2 separate regions of the Homo sapiens genome follow, and region 1 is linked to region 2. Evidence: promoter capture Hi-C in human tissues and cell types (Jung and others, 2019). All regions are on one chromosome and are shown on one strand. Each heading gives the region's core, a stretch centred on a gene start or on the middle of the fragment in contact. The rest is flanking DNA. Distances are from core to core; before and after follow the strand shown. Region 1 holds the start of C20orf173 (chromosome 20 open reading frame 173). Region 2 holds the start of NFS1 (NFS1 cysteine desulfurase).

The links. Contacts are between HindIII fragments. The study calls those that stand out against the background at their distance.
Region 1: a contact is called between the fragment with the promoter of C20orf173 here and the fragment with the promoter of NFS1 in region 2, in 4 of the 25 tissues and cell types used here (adrenal gland, mesenchymal stem cells, pancreas and 1 more).

The regions. Positions count from the first base shown.
Region 1 is chr20:35,525,701-35,532,673 of GRCh38, forward strand. It overlaps C20orf173 (chromosome 20 open reading frame 173), which reads right to left and starts at 3,952. Exons shown (of 6, transcript NM_001145350.2): 1 at 3,859-3,952; 2 at 3,365-3,724; 3 at 3,001-3,179; 4 at 2,751-2,844; 5 at 2,533-2,584; 6 at 1,279-1,550. The coding sequence starts at 3,673. The coding sequence ends at 2,558. The HindIII fragment of the contact is 31,043 bases long and covers 1-6,973 here.
Region 2 is chr20:35,696,055-35,702,743 of GRCh38, forward strand. NFS1 (NFS1 cysteine desulfurase) reads right to left here and starts at 3,298. Exons shown (of 13, transcript NM_021100.5): 1 at 3,138-3,298; 2 at 2,427-2,536; 3 at 1,630-1,746; 4 at 323-406. The coding sequence starts at 3,234. It overlaps ROMO1 (reactive oxygen species modulator 1), which reads left to right and starts at 3,351. Exons shown (of 3, transcript NM_080748.3): 1 at 3,351-3,402; 2 at 3,579-3,709; 3 at 4,744-4,926. The coding sequence starts at 3,579. The coding sequence ends at 4,852. It overlaps RBM39 (RNA binding motif protein 39), which reads right to left. Exons shown (of 17, transcript NM_184234.3): 17 at 5,293-6,689. RefSeq lists enhancers at 2,865-3,524, 3,525-4,184, 3,756-3,975 and a silencer at 3,076-3,265. The HindIII fragment of the contact is 14,345 bases long and covers 1-6,689 here.

The DNA of each region.
Region 1 (6,973 bases), core at 2,702-5,201, 170 kb before region 2:
CTGATGCGATCCAGTGGTGTTAGCAAACTGTATTGAAGCAGCATTGCACAGCAGCAGCAGAGGTACACTGCTTCTTGTGGACAGGGCTACCCCATAGGCAGTGTGCCCAGAGTTAGCAGCTCAGCAGCAGCTCTGCAATCCTATTTATACCCACTTTTAACTACATGCAAATTAAGGGGTGAATTATGCAGAAATTTTCCAGGCACAAGCAGTCCTCCTGCCTCAGCCTCACAACATGCTGGGTCTGAGCCACTGTGCCCAGCCAAAAGTCTGATTTTTTATTCTTTGTTAACTGTAGCAGTTGGATTCTTGGTCTTGGTCAACAGACTGGTAAACTTCAGAGAAAAACAATTCGCCGGCTAAATATTTAGTAGTTTACAGGATGATGCAAAAGCTAGAGAACCAGGCTCAGTCTATCATGAGATGCAAAACATGGCCAAAGACTACCCCAGGAATGGCCCACCTGGAATGCCACCACTGCTGCCAACACAACTGGGCCCTTGACACTGTGGTAGTCTCATTATGGCAGATTCTCTTCAGCTCTTTCCATTAGGAAGAGCAGTTCATTTCCCCACTTCTTGGATCTTGGATCACTTTATGACTTGATCTGACCAATGGAATGCTGCAGAAGTGACACGGTAAGTGCTAGGCACAGTGACTCACACCTGTAATCCCAGCACTTTGGGAGGCCAAGGCAGTAGGATTGCTTGAGCCTAGGAGTTCAAGGCCATCCTGGCCAACATGGCAAGACCCCCTTTCTACAAAAACAAAAATTAAAATTAACTGGGTGTGGTGACATGCATTTATAGTCCCAGCTACTCAGGGGGCTTAGGTGGGAGGATCACTTGAGCCCAGGAGGTCGAGGCTGCAATAAGCCATGATTGTGCCACTCCATTCCAGCCTGGGCAACACAGCAAACTCTTGTCTCAAAAAAAAAAAAAAAAAAAAAAGCGAATTGGAACTGAGGCACCTAAAAAAACTGGGAACCTCAAAATGCTAAACCTTCTGTGAAAAGCTGGGCAAAAAAACAAAAAACAAAAAACAACCCTCACCCTCCGGCATGGGTGAAACAAGGAGGTTTACTTCTTTTATCGAAGTGGGTAAAGAGCCTCCCCCAACAACTCAAAGTCTGGGTTTGCACTTGGCATGAAATTGAATCTAAACTTATACCTCCTACATGATCCAGGGCACTAGGCAAAGAAATCAACTCAAATATTGCCCCTGAGATCTGGAAGGCACCTCTGGCCCATCCCTCCCAGACACTGTGGTTACAGGTAAGACAATCAGGCCAGGATTTTATTCAGTACCAGACTGATCTTACAATTTCCTCCTGCCCTTTACCCACCCAGAAATAGGATTTGTATGGACTCAGCTAGGCTGAGCTTGTGTGAATAGTGAGCTTGTCCACACGCTAGCTGATGGATGACTTCGATTTCTGCTCCTGCACTAGACGTGGGCAGTATTTCCTTGGAGCCCTTGGTCTGATTATCCTCCTTCCAGTGATAGAAACACTTTCCTTGCTATTCTGATCCAAATCCAAAGAGGGTGACCTAGTGGATAAGAGAGGGACATGTGCGTCAGCAGGCAGACTCCTGTCCTCACCCCTGCCTCCCTTCACTCAGCATCTAGGATGACAGGTTGTCCCTGGGAGCTGGGAGGAGACTGGAGCTCACCTCCAGGAAACAGACTCTGGACACTCTCCTAGAGTCACTGAGGATCCCAAAAAAGAGAATGTCAACTCACTTTTCCTCATGGTATTGGAGGAAGAGAGGGGAACCCCCAGGACGTAAGAGAAGGGCATTCCAGGCAAACGGAATGGTGCGAGAGAAGGCATGAGGCAGCTCATGTGTCTGGGGAATTCTAAGAGCCCATTATGGGAGCCTGGGAGACAGGAGGCAAGGGGAGGAGTCAGAACATGTATAGTCTTTTTTTTTTCTGAGATGGAGTCTCGCTCTGTCACCAGGCTGGAGTGCAGTGGCGCAATCTCGGCTAACTGCAACCTCTGCCTCCCGGGTTCAAGCGATTCTTCTACCTCAGCCTCCCGAGTAGCTGGGACTACAGGCATGCCTGGCTATTTTTTGCATTTTTAGTAGAGATGAGGCTACCACCATGCCTGGCTATTTTTTGTATTTTTAGTAGAGATGGAGTTTGACCATATTGGCCAGGCTGGTCTCGAACTCCTGACCTCATGATCCACCCGCCTCAGCCTCCCAAAGTGTTGGGATACAGGCATGAGCCACCACGCTTGGCCTACATGTAGAGTCTTGAAAGCCAGGCAGAAAACTTTAGACTCCATGCTGAAGGCATTGAGGAGCAGGAATTTTAAGAGAAGAAGATACAAGAATCTTTCCTGCCGGGGCACAGTTGTGCAAGACACAGAACAAAGCCTTGGGCCCCAGGGATGACCCTGACCCTGGTAAGACAGCCAGTTGTCCTGGTTGCACCTGGGGAGGAAGGGGGAGGGAACTGACCTGGGGCCCTTCCCACAGCAACCCACAGCCACATCCTACCCCTTTTCCTATTCCCCCTCACCGTGTCTTTGCTATCTTCCACTCCACTAGGGAACCAGACCATCTTCCAAAATCTGAGAAAGAATTGGAGGTGGGGGAGTTTGGGCCACAAGACCTGGGAAAGTCCTGCAAGTGTCCCCAGTAAGCCAATAGAAGGTCTTCCCAGAGCCCCTGCTGTTACTCCCTGCAGTGACCTCCCCTCACCCCCACACAGAGAATGTCTGGGGACACCTCCATCACCTTATCACTTAGAGCATCTGAAGTCCACACCAGGTCAGAGAGCTTCCGCAGTAGCATCTCCAGCTGCATCCAGGAGCCCTGGTCGCTGGCATTCCTGGGATAGATGAAGCATTGTGTGTGGTTTGGTTCCCCACGTCCATCTCAAAGCCCTGGACTTGGGGCCTGCTTCATCTTGGGAAGGGGAGCAGAAACTGATGGAACTGTGGGGCAGGCCTGGCCTTCCTGCTCCCGCCCTCTCCCCAGCACCCACCTGAAAACCACGGGGTATTGGTCGATGTCGTTGCCAAGGCTGGAGCCCTGCGGGATCTGTGGGCGCCCCAACAGCACACAAGTCCCACAATAGAAATCAAAATGGCTCACCGAGAGCCTGGGAATCCCTTTAAACAGCTTCCTCCACAATTTCCCAAGCTCGCTCCCTGAGTTCATGCCCTGGAAACAGCAAGAGGGAGATTGGGGGCTGGGCCCAGGGGAGAGAAAACAGAGCTGGGTGGGTGAGATCTCCATCCAGAGGCTGTGAAGACAGGGCCAAGGGCAGGGATTTGGGCGGAAAGTGGGAGATGGGTGAGGCCCGGAAAGCATGGGGGATATGGCCGGGCCCAGTGTTGACCACTGACCAACCACCAGAGCACAGTGTCAGAGGTCATAGACTCTCTTGTCCTCATCAGGTACCCCATAGTCTTCCTGGAGCACGCATCAAGCCAGTTCCATTCGTCGGCTGTGTGGTGGCAGGAGGAGCAGTTGAGGGTCTCAGAAGGGCAGCCACACTTCCCGGAACTGAACCAAGGGCAGTCGCAATGCTGTGGTACCAAGTACATTCGTTTTTCCTGGGGTGCTGATTCAGGTGTCAGATCCAGATAGGGGGTCATCAGCCAGAGGATGAGCACCCAAAAGACCCACAGGACAAAAATCTGCCAGCGCTTCATGTCTGGCCCAGGCGGTGGCTCCCGTGGTGGGCCGTAGACTGGCTTCTCTACCTGTAAGGATGAGGGGCTGAGGCCACAGACAGCACCAGCTTCCCTCTGTCCTGTCGGCCTCCACAACTCCCCATCCCACCACCTTCCACCTCCTTCCAACCCCTCCTCTCCTGCCTCACTATCCATTTGCTCACCCTCAAAACGGTCTCTGACTGGGCATGGGGTGGAAGAGGCCAGGGCAGAGAGACAGCATGTGGCTAGTCCTGAGAGGGGAAGGAATACCTCAGTGGGGGCCTTGCTGTCATCCCAGTTATATCATAGATCTCATCACAAAGTACACATTGTGACCTCCCTCCTTTAGCCTGCCTGAAAAAAGCCACCACCCTACCCTTTCTCTGACACCGAAATGACCTCCACTGGATGTAAGATTCATGAGGACAGGGGCTGACCTAGTCTCTCTTCTTCACCTCTGCAGCTCTAAGACTTAGAATCATTTAATAAATATTTATGGGATAAATAAACAGGGGTTGAGAGGGAACTTTTTTTTTTTTTTTTGAGATGGAGTTTTTGCTCTGTTGTCCAGGCTGGAGTGCAGTGGCATGATCTTGGCTCACTGCAACTTCCGCCTGCCTGGTTCAAGCGATTCTCATGCCTCAGCCTCCCAAGTAGCTGGGACTACAGGCATGCGCCACCACGCCTGGCTAATTTTTATATTTTTAGTGGAGACAGGGTTTCGCCATATTGGCCAGGCTGGTCTCAAACTCCTGACCTCAAGTGATCCGCCCACCTCAGCCTCCCAAAGTGCTGGAATTACAGGCGTGAACCACCATGCCCAGCCGGGAACTTTATTTTTAAATTATTATTATTATTATTATTATTATTATTATTATTATTATTATTTTGAGACGGAGTTTCACTCTTGTCGCCCCAGCTGGAGTGCAGAGGCACGATCTCGGCTCACTGCACCCTCTACCTCCCGGGTTTAAGTGATTCTCTTGCCTCGGTTTCCCAAGTAGCTGGGATTACAGGTGCCCGCCACCACGCCTGGCTAATTTTTTTGTATTTTTAGTAGAGACGGGGTTTCCCCATGTTGGTCAGACTGATCTCGAACTTCTGACCTCAGGTGATCCGCCCGCCTTGGCCTCCCAAAGTGTTGGGATTACAGGCATGAGCCACTGCACCCCGCCCCAGCCTGGAACTTTAAATATACTTGTGTGTGATGCCCTCTCTGGAGTTGTGTGACATCAACTCAATCCTCTCTTGTAGTCTCTAGACCCCATATCCAACAGCCTACTGAATTGCCACTTAGATGGCTCAGAGACATCTCACCTGAATAAGCCTGAGACTGAACCCAGGATTTTCCCTGTAAACCAACCCTTCCCAAAACTTCTCTGTCTCTTTTGTTTTGTTTGAGACAGAGTCTTGCTCTGTCACCCAGGCTGGAGTGCAGTGGCGCAATCTCAGCTCACTGCAACTTCTGCCTCCTCCGGGGTTCAAGCAATTCTCCTGCCTCTGCCTCCCGAATAGCTGGGATTACAGGTGCGTGCCACCAAGCCCGGCTAATTTTTTGTATTTTTGGTACAAACGGGATTCCACCATGTTGGCCAGGCTGATCTCAAACTCCTGACCTCAGGTAATCTGCCCACCTCGGCCTCCCAAAGTACTGGGATTACAGGCGTGAGCCACTGCACCCAGCTTCAAAACTTCTCTATCTCAACAAATGGTTCCACCACGTACCCAGTTATTGAAACCAGAACTCATGTGTTATTAATTCCTCCTACTCCTATGATACCCAAATTCTTTTTTTTTTTTTTTTTTTAGGACAAAGTCTCACTCTGTCACCCAGGCAGGAGTGCAGTGGCACAATCTTAGCCCACTGTAGCCTCTGCCTCCAAGGTTCAAGCAATCCTTTCACCTCAGCTTGCCAAGATGCTGGGACTACAGAAGTGTGCCACCACGCTAGGCTTATTTATTTATTTAATTTATTTTTGAAACAGAGTCTCACTCTGTCGCCCAGGCTGGAGTGCAGTGGCACAATCTTGGCTCACTGCAACCTCTACCTCCCAGGTTCAAGTGATTCTCATGCCTTAGCCTCCCAGGTAGCTGGGACTACAGGCGCACAACACCACACCTGGCTCATTTTTGTATTTTTTTGGTAGAAACGGGGTTTCACTGTGTTGGCTAGGCTGGTCTCCATCTCCTGGTCTCAAGCAATCCGCCCACCTCGGCCTCCCAAAGTGCTGGAATTACAGGCGTGAGCCACCGAGCCTTGCTGATTTTTTTTTTTAAGTAGAGATGGGGTTTACTGTGCCAGCCCTGTCTCGAACTCAGCTCAAGTGATCCACCCTCCTCGGCCTTTCAAAGTGCTGAGATTACAGGCATAAGCCACTGAGTCTGGCCTCAAATCCATTTTTTAATTCGTTTCTATTTCTAAGTCATCTTCTTCATCTCCACTGCCACCCCCTTAATTCAATTGTAGTCTTGTAAAGATAGTAAAAAAATGAAAATGTTTGAGTTGTTTTTAAAGTTTAAGAAAAAAACAGAACATTTTGGTTTTTAAAAAAAATCAAAACATTTTATTCAATGGGATAAGAACAGTAAAATTCTTCATCTTAACTAGTGGAAAGCTGCACTGGATATTGTATAGCTTTTAAATCAATTCACCCAAATATCTGAGTAAGGTGTGTAGGCTAGTTAATTATATCATACCAACGTCAAGTTCCAGGTTTTGAAAAAGTACCATATGGGCTGGGCGCGGTGGCCCACGCCTGTAATCCCAGCATTTTGGGAGGCAAGGTGGGCAGATCACCTGAGGTCAGGAGTTCGAGACCAGCCTGACCAACATGGAGAAACCCTGTCTCTATTAAAAATACAAAATTAGCCAAGCATGGTGGCGCATGCCTGTAATTCCAGCTACTCGGGAGGCTGAGGCAGGAAAATTGCTTGAACCCGGGAGGCGGAGGTTGCGGTGAGCCGAGATCGCACCACTGAATGTGATTTTAGCTGGGCAAAAAGAGTGAAACTCTGTCTCAAAAAAAGAAAAAGAAAAATTACTATATGTATTATATGGTAAGACACTACCATTAAGAGAAAATGAAGGCCAGGCACAGTGGCTCGTGCCTGTAATCCCAGCACTTTGGGAGGCCAAGGTGGGGTTTGAAGCTTGAAGCCAGGAGTTTGAGACCAGCCTGGGCAACACAGCAAGACTCTACACACACACACACACACACACACACACACACACACACACACACACAAAATTAGCTGGGCTTGGTGGTGTGCGCCTTTATTCCTAGCTACTTGGGAGGT
Region 2 (6,689 bases), core at 2,048-4,547:
ATGGAGAAAAGGTTCAATCACCATTATCCACTCTCTGAAGTAACTGCCAGACAAAAAAAAAACAAGTGGTTAATGGCCTGAGGGCCACCTCCTTTGCTATCCAACTGCCTCACTCAACTCAGACCAACAGCAGCAAAGACTTAAGAAAGAGTAGACTGCAAAGGGTTAAAGGAAGCAACAAATCAGAAAGACTGCAAGCCTTCTCTTCACAATGGGGTGGGGATGGATGGCTGCGAAATACATATACGAGTCCAAATGATGGAGGGACACTATCTCCTAGGTCAGGAAAGCCCACATACACCCTCTGGTTCCCTTCTCTTACCTTAATTGCTATGTTGTTGGATTCAGTAGCACCACTAGTAAAAATGATCTCACGAGGATCAGCTCCAATCAGAGATGCTACTTGCTGCAAGCCAAGAAACAGAGATATATAACATCAGTTCCCCAGGCAGAAATAGAGCTGCAGACACAGGTGGGACAGCCCTGGAGCAAGAAGAGCTCCACTGCATTCCACCAAATTGCCCTGGATGAAGGTCTGCACCTACAAGAATCAGATTCTAGTTATATCCCAGATCCCAGGCTCTTTTCCAGCCCAATGCAAAATAATAACTTTTTTTTTTTAATGAACTATTGGCCAGGTGTGGTGGGTCACTCCTGTAACCCCAGCACTTTGGGAGGCCGAGGTGGAAAGATCACCTGAGGTCAGGAGTTCGAGACCAACCTGGCCAACATGGTGAAACTCCATTTCTACTAAGAATACAAAAATATTAGGCCGGGCATGGTGGCTCAAGCCTGTAATCCCAGCACTTTGGGAGGCTGAGGCAGGTGGATCACCTGAGGTCGGGAATTCAAGACCAGCCTGACCAACATGGAGAAACCCCGTCTCTACTAAAAATACAAATTTACCCGGGTGTGGTGGCGCATGCCTGTAATCCCAGCTACTTGGGAGGCTGAGGTAGGAGAACTGCTTGAACCCGGGAGGCAGAGGTTGCAGTGAGCCGAGATCGTGCCACTGCACTGCAGCCTGGGTAACAAGAGCAAAACTCTGTCTCAAATAATAGTAAATAAATAAATAAATAAAAATACAAAAATATTAGCTAGGCATGGTGGCGTGTGCCTGTAATCCCAATTACTTGGGAGGCTGAGGCAGCAGAATCACTTGAACCCGGGAGGCAGAGGTTGCAGTGAGCCAAGATCGTGCGCCACTGCACTCCAGTCTGGGCAACAAATGTGAAAACTCCATCTCATAAAAAAAAAAAAAAAGAACTATTGAGCTCTTACTATTTATAGTACTTCTTACTTACAGATGTTGTGGTAATAAACACTTTATCAGCATTGTCTTATTTAATCCACCCAGTAACCCTACAGAGTAGAAACTACCACAATCTCTGTTTTAAATGAGGAAAATAAGGCTCAAAGAAATTAGATAACTTGCCCAAGTCATTTAGCCAGGAAATATGGGAACCAATCAAATGCCTGCAGTCAAACTCCAAGGCTGCTCTTTGAATCTCTTCCAGAAAGAATCCAAAACCATTTCTACCTCCATGCACACCTACCAAGAAAGAAATGCCTCCCACAGGCCACTGCCCCTCTTTGACCTTAGAACCTCCTAGACTCCTGTGTACTAACCTGACGAGCACGTTCCATGGCTGCCTCACTCTCCCAGCCATAAGCATGTGTCCGGGAGTGTGGGTTCCCATAGTAGTTGATTAGGTAAGGGAGCATGGCATCAAGCACCCGGGGGTCCTGAACACAACAGAACAGATCATTTTCCTTGAGCGCATCGTCAATTCAGGTCCCACTCCACCCCTCAGACCTGGCCACCCTGCCTTAAGACACTCTCAACCCCTCAGGCACTGCCTAGAGGAGGCCTCAAACATTCTTTTGTTCCCACAAAACTACCCACCAAATATCAACCTAATACACTCCCACTCACAACCCATCCCAACTCGGATTGTTCTGCCTCCCCTCAGGTAGTCTACAAACACTGCCTTGTTCCGACATCTGTTTCTGCTGGTGTTTCCATTCCTGCCAGGTAATGTGATCTATAAGGGGCTGGGACAGGACAGGGCCTAGGCAAACACCCCTGGTCACACATTGGTGAAAACTTGCATTAGTCTTTTAACCCGTTTAATACTTGTCCAAGTTCACACAGTTACTAAGTGGCCGTTCTGCTCATTCCAGAGCCCATGCTTTTAACTAATACTATAGAGCCTGCGCTGAAGTGATCTGACCAAGGTCAATTGCTAGTGAGTAGTAAAGCCAATGCCAGTGGCCTCGAATTTAAGCCTCCCGACTCCTCGCTCAGTGCTTTTTCCAGCACACCTTCACGGCTCTCACTTCTCCAGGGATTCAGCCATTTCTTTGCGTGATCACGCCCATCATTTACTTCCTATAAGCAGCCTTGGGAAAAGCTTCATCCTTACCAGAGGAGTTGTAGCTTGCACATCCATATAGAGAGGTCGCAGCACTGGCCCCACCTCCGGGGCAGCGGCTGTATCTGCGGGAACCGCAGACTGAGGAGCACGGTCTCCAACTGATAAAAAATGGAACGGAGTAGCCAAGTAAGACCGAAGGCAACTATGAACGCATGGCATCCAAAGGGCAGAAGGAAAAATCTGGCTGGAGGTGAGATAAGTGTAAGGGATGCTAGGGTCGAATCTCAATGGAAAGAAAACAACACCAGATACCTGACACGCTGTAAAAGGAGGTAAGGGAGAGGGAGAGAGGGTTCCTGGAGGGGGTGTTGAGTTGATATTCAAATGGTATCGTAGGAAGGAAGGCTCTAAAGGGCAAAGACGTTTAGAAGGAACGTGGAGCCAGAGTAGGTGCAGTCCCTTCTGACCGAAGGTAACGGTCTGCACGGGAGCCCGGAGCAGCATCTGTAACTTGGCCAGGAGCGGTCTGAAGGACGCGCCTCCACGGCTCTGGGGGCCTGTCGCGCAGGGTGCGAGGGGTGGTGCGCCGGGGTCAACCGTTCGGGGACCCGCCTAAGAAAGTTTGAGGGATGTGTCATTTGAGAGAAGGGTCAGAGGGTCTGGGCAGCAGGGTGGACAGGAAGGCTCCGGAATATTCAGTTGCGTCGCCGCGCGGAGGGGACAGGTCCGCGCCTCCCGGAGAGCGGGACCCGAGCGTACCGCGCAGGCGCAGCCCCCGAGTGGGCGCCGCGGGCTTCGGCCCTGGAGCCGCTGTCACCGCCACTGCCGCCCGCCTCCAAGCGGCTCGGAGCAGCATGGTCCCGCTGGCAGAGCCCACCTTCCGAAGCCGCTGCAGTCCTGGGCCCCAGGCTCCCGGAAGTGCTGCCCGGCGCTCCGGAAGCGATTCATCGGGCCGCGAGCGCCCTCCCCGTCGTTTTCCGTGAGAGACGTAGAGCTGAGCGACCCAGCCCGCGAGCGAGGTGAGGTAGGCGCCGGGCGACGCGGGGCCGGAACGCGAAGAGGGTGGTGGAGTCGGGCTACCCACTGATTTTCCTTCCCTTACTTCCCCTGAGCCCTTGGGCCCACTTCCCAGCCTACCGCTTCCGTCCCCGCCCGACTCTTGGGCCAGCGCCTGGGCCCACACTTTCCTATCCCCCGCAGATGCCGGTGGCCGTGGGTCCCTACGGACAGTCCCAGCCAAGCTGCTTCGACCGTGTCAAAATGGGCTTCGTGATGGGTTGCGCCGTGGGCATGGCGGCCGGGGCGCTCTTCGGCACCTTTTCCTGTCTCAGGTGAGGGGCGCGGGCGGTGATCTCTGGGCAGGACAACCAGACCTTCCGGCCCTGCCCCATTCGGCCTGGAGCCTGAACACAGCCTCCTTCTTTCGACTTCCCTCTCTGTCCCCTCGCGAGCCAGACTCATTCCAAACCACCTTCAATCTGTAAAGTCAGGTTGGAAGCGTCAGTGCTTAAGAATTTGAGCTTTAGAGTCAAAATGCTTTCTGGCCCTTTTCTTACTGGTTCGGTGACTTTAGGCAAGTTGGAGACTGGGTTTCCTTAAGTGTAGAATGAAGACAGTAGCATCTAACTTATAGAGTTGTAAAAATTCGATCAGCACACTTTGCACAGCATCTGGCACATATTAAGTGCTCAGTAACTAGTTACTACTGTTGCTTTTATTTTTTTTTCCAATTGCGCATAAGGAAAGAAACTCGTTCAGCGGTTTTACTATTCTGGATACAGGATACAGAGATAAAGCAGTTAAACTTTACACTCTAAAGGTCATTTTCACATTTAGAGGCTGTTATTGCCATATCCCTAGATTGTAAATTATCATTTACAGAGCACTTACTCTATGTTAAGCACTGTGCTAAATACTGTAGTTTTCAAAATCCTGTAAATAATGTTGAGATGCCCATTTTACACTTGACACTATGTGTAAATTGTAGAGCTGACTCTTGAACCCCCACCTTACTCCAAAATCATTAACACCAAGAAACTAAAAGACAGATGTCTTTATTGGGTCTTAAACTGCAGGCAACACCAGTCAAAAAAGCTGGTTTCTCTATGTATTTTACACTGCATCTGCTGCCTCCCACAAACTGAAGGCAGTTAATACGACATCCACCAGAAAAATACCCTGGAGACCCAGATGGATCTTTTTCCTTCTCATTACCCACCCCAGGTAGTAAGATATAATATCCAGTAAGTGGAAAATCAGATGTAGGGGTTGCTAGACTAGTGTTAGCAAAAAATTGGAAAGGAGCAGTTAATACTCTTTCTGATATTTTTGTTACCAAATAGCTCCATCTTGGTTTCCTCCTCAGGATCGGAATGCGGGGTCGAGAGCTGATGGGCGGCATTGGGAAAACCATGATGCAGAGTGGCGGCACCTTTGGCACATTCATGGCCATTGGGATGGGCATCCGATGCTAACCATGGTTGCCAACTACATCTGTCCCTTCCCATCAATCCCAGCCCATGTACTAATAAAAGAAAGTCTTTGAGTAGTCAGTGTCCCTCTCTTAAAGGAATATTCTTCTCTCAGCCTATTATCCAGCTTTGCCAAGGATCTTCTGCACTAAAGAGATGGACTAACGTAATGACTAGGGTTAGTATCTCTTTCACAAGGCCTGCCTCTCTTAATCCAAAATTGGAAAACTTGGGAGTGTCTAGTATTTTCCATAGATACTATTCAACTAATTACTCAGTACAACTCTGTGCTTGTTACTACGGTCACCATTTTAAAGGAGAAAAACTACTTCAAAAAATGGATTTATAAGCCGAAATTTCCTCAAGGTCACACATTGCATTATTTCCAAAGCAATGTTCATCCTGAGGTTGGTTGTTTCCTTGGTCGCCCAGGTTGGAGTGCAGTGGCACGATCTCGGCTTACCGCAACTTCTGCCTCCTGTGTTCAAGCGTTTCTCCTGCCTCAGCCTCCCGAGTAGCTGTGATAACAGGCACGTGCCACCATGCCTAGCTAAATTTTGTATTGTTAGGCTGGGCGCGGTGGCTTATGCCTGTAATCCCAGCACTTTGGGAGGCAAAGGCTGGTGGATCACAAGGTCAGGAGATGGAGACCATCTTGGGTAACACGGTGACACCCCGTCTCTACTAAAAATACAAAAACTTAAGCCGGGTGTGTTGACACGCGCCTGTATTCCCAGCTACTCGGGAGGCTGAGGCAGGAGAATCGCTTGAACCCAGAAGGTGGAGGTTGCAGTGAGCTGAGATCGAGCCATTGCACTCCAGCCTGGGCGACAGAGCGAGACTCTGTCTCAAAACAAAAAAAATTTGTATTCTTAGTAGAGACGGGGTTTCACTGTGTTGGCCAGGCTGGTCTCAAACTCTTGACCTCATGATCCACCCGCCTCCGCCTCCCAGTGTTCACATATACAGGCATAAGGCACCACGTCCAGCCCGAGGTTGTTATTTAGATATACCTAGTGGCTTTATCAGAAAAAGCAAAACAGTTCATCCACTGTAAAAAAAAATAGAAACTTCTGTAGCTTCTCAACTGGCTAAATTCCAGATGATTTTCTAACCACTCATCAACAATCTATATAGCTTGCCCTCCACAAAACTTACTAGTTTGATGATAAAAAGCTTCTGTAATGAGGCAGTTGTCCATCTCACCTGCCCAGGCCACGCAGACCCTGGAGTTACTAACCCGCATTGCCCATTAAGCATTTCTTAAACAGAACTTTCAAAGATGGTAGTAATTATTATAAAGATAAAAGAAAACTAGATGAACACTTTGGAACACTGACAGGCAGGAGGAAATTAAGGACATTACCAGATTAGTTACAGATTTTCGAACCAGTGGGATGCTGACTCAGGAACTGATTGGACATAAACAGTTTCACTCAGAATGAGCTGTTTTCTATGCACGACACTATTCAAGTTACTACACTCCAACCACATTTCCTCTGAACATTATTTACACACCAAATTTCACTCTGGTAGCAACTAAATTTTGGCACAGATGAGATTAACCACTAAAGGCCACATTTGCTGGTCCAGTTCCCTAGAAAGCAATGACACAACAAATTTGTTAGGAAGACTTGGTTCAAGGGGAAAAACTGATAGCAGGAGATACTTTGGAAAAAGAGCACACTGACAGAGTGTCTCTGCCCCAAAGAACTCTGCAGTCTGGTATTGAAAAGTAAATTTTCAATGAGGCTGGGCGCGGTGGCTCATGCCTGTAATCCCGGCACTTTGGGAGGCCAAGGCGGACAGATCACTTGAGGTCAGTGTGAGACCAGCCGGG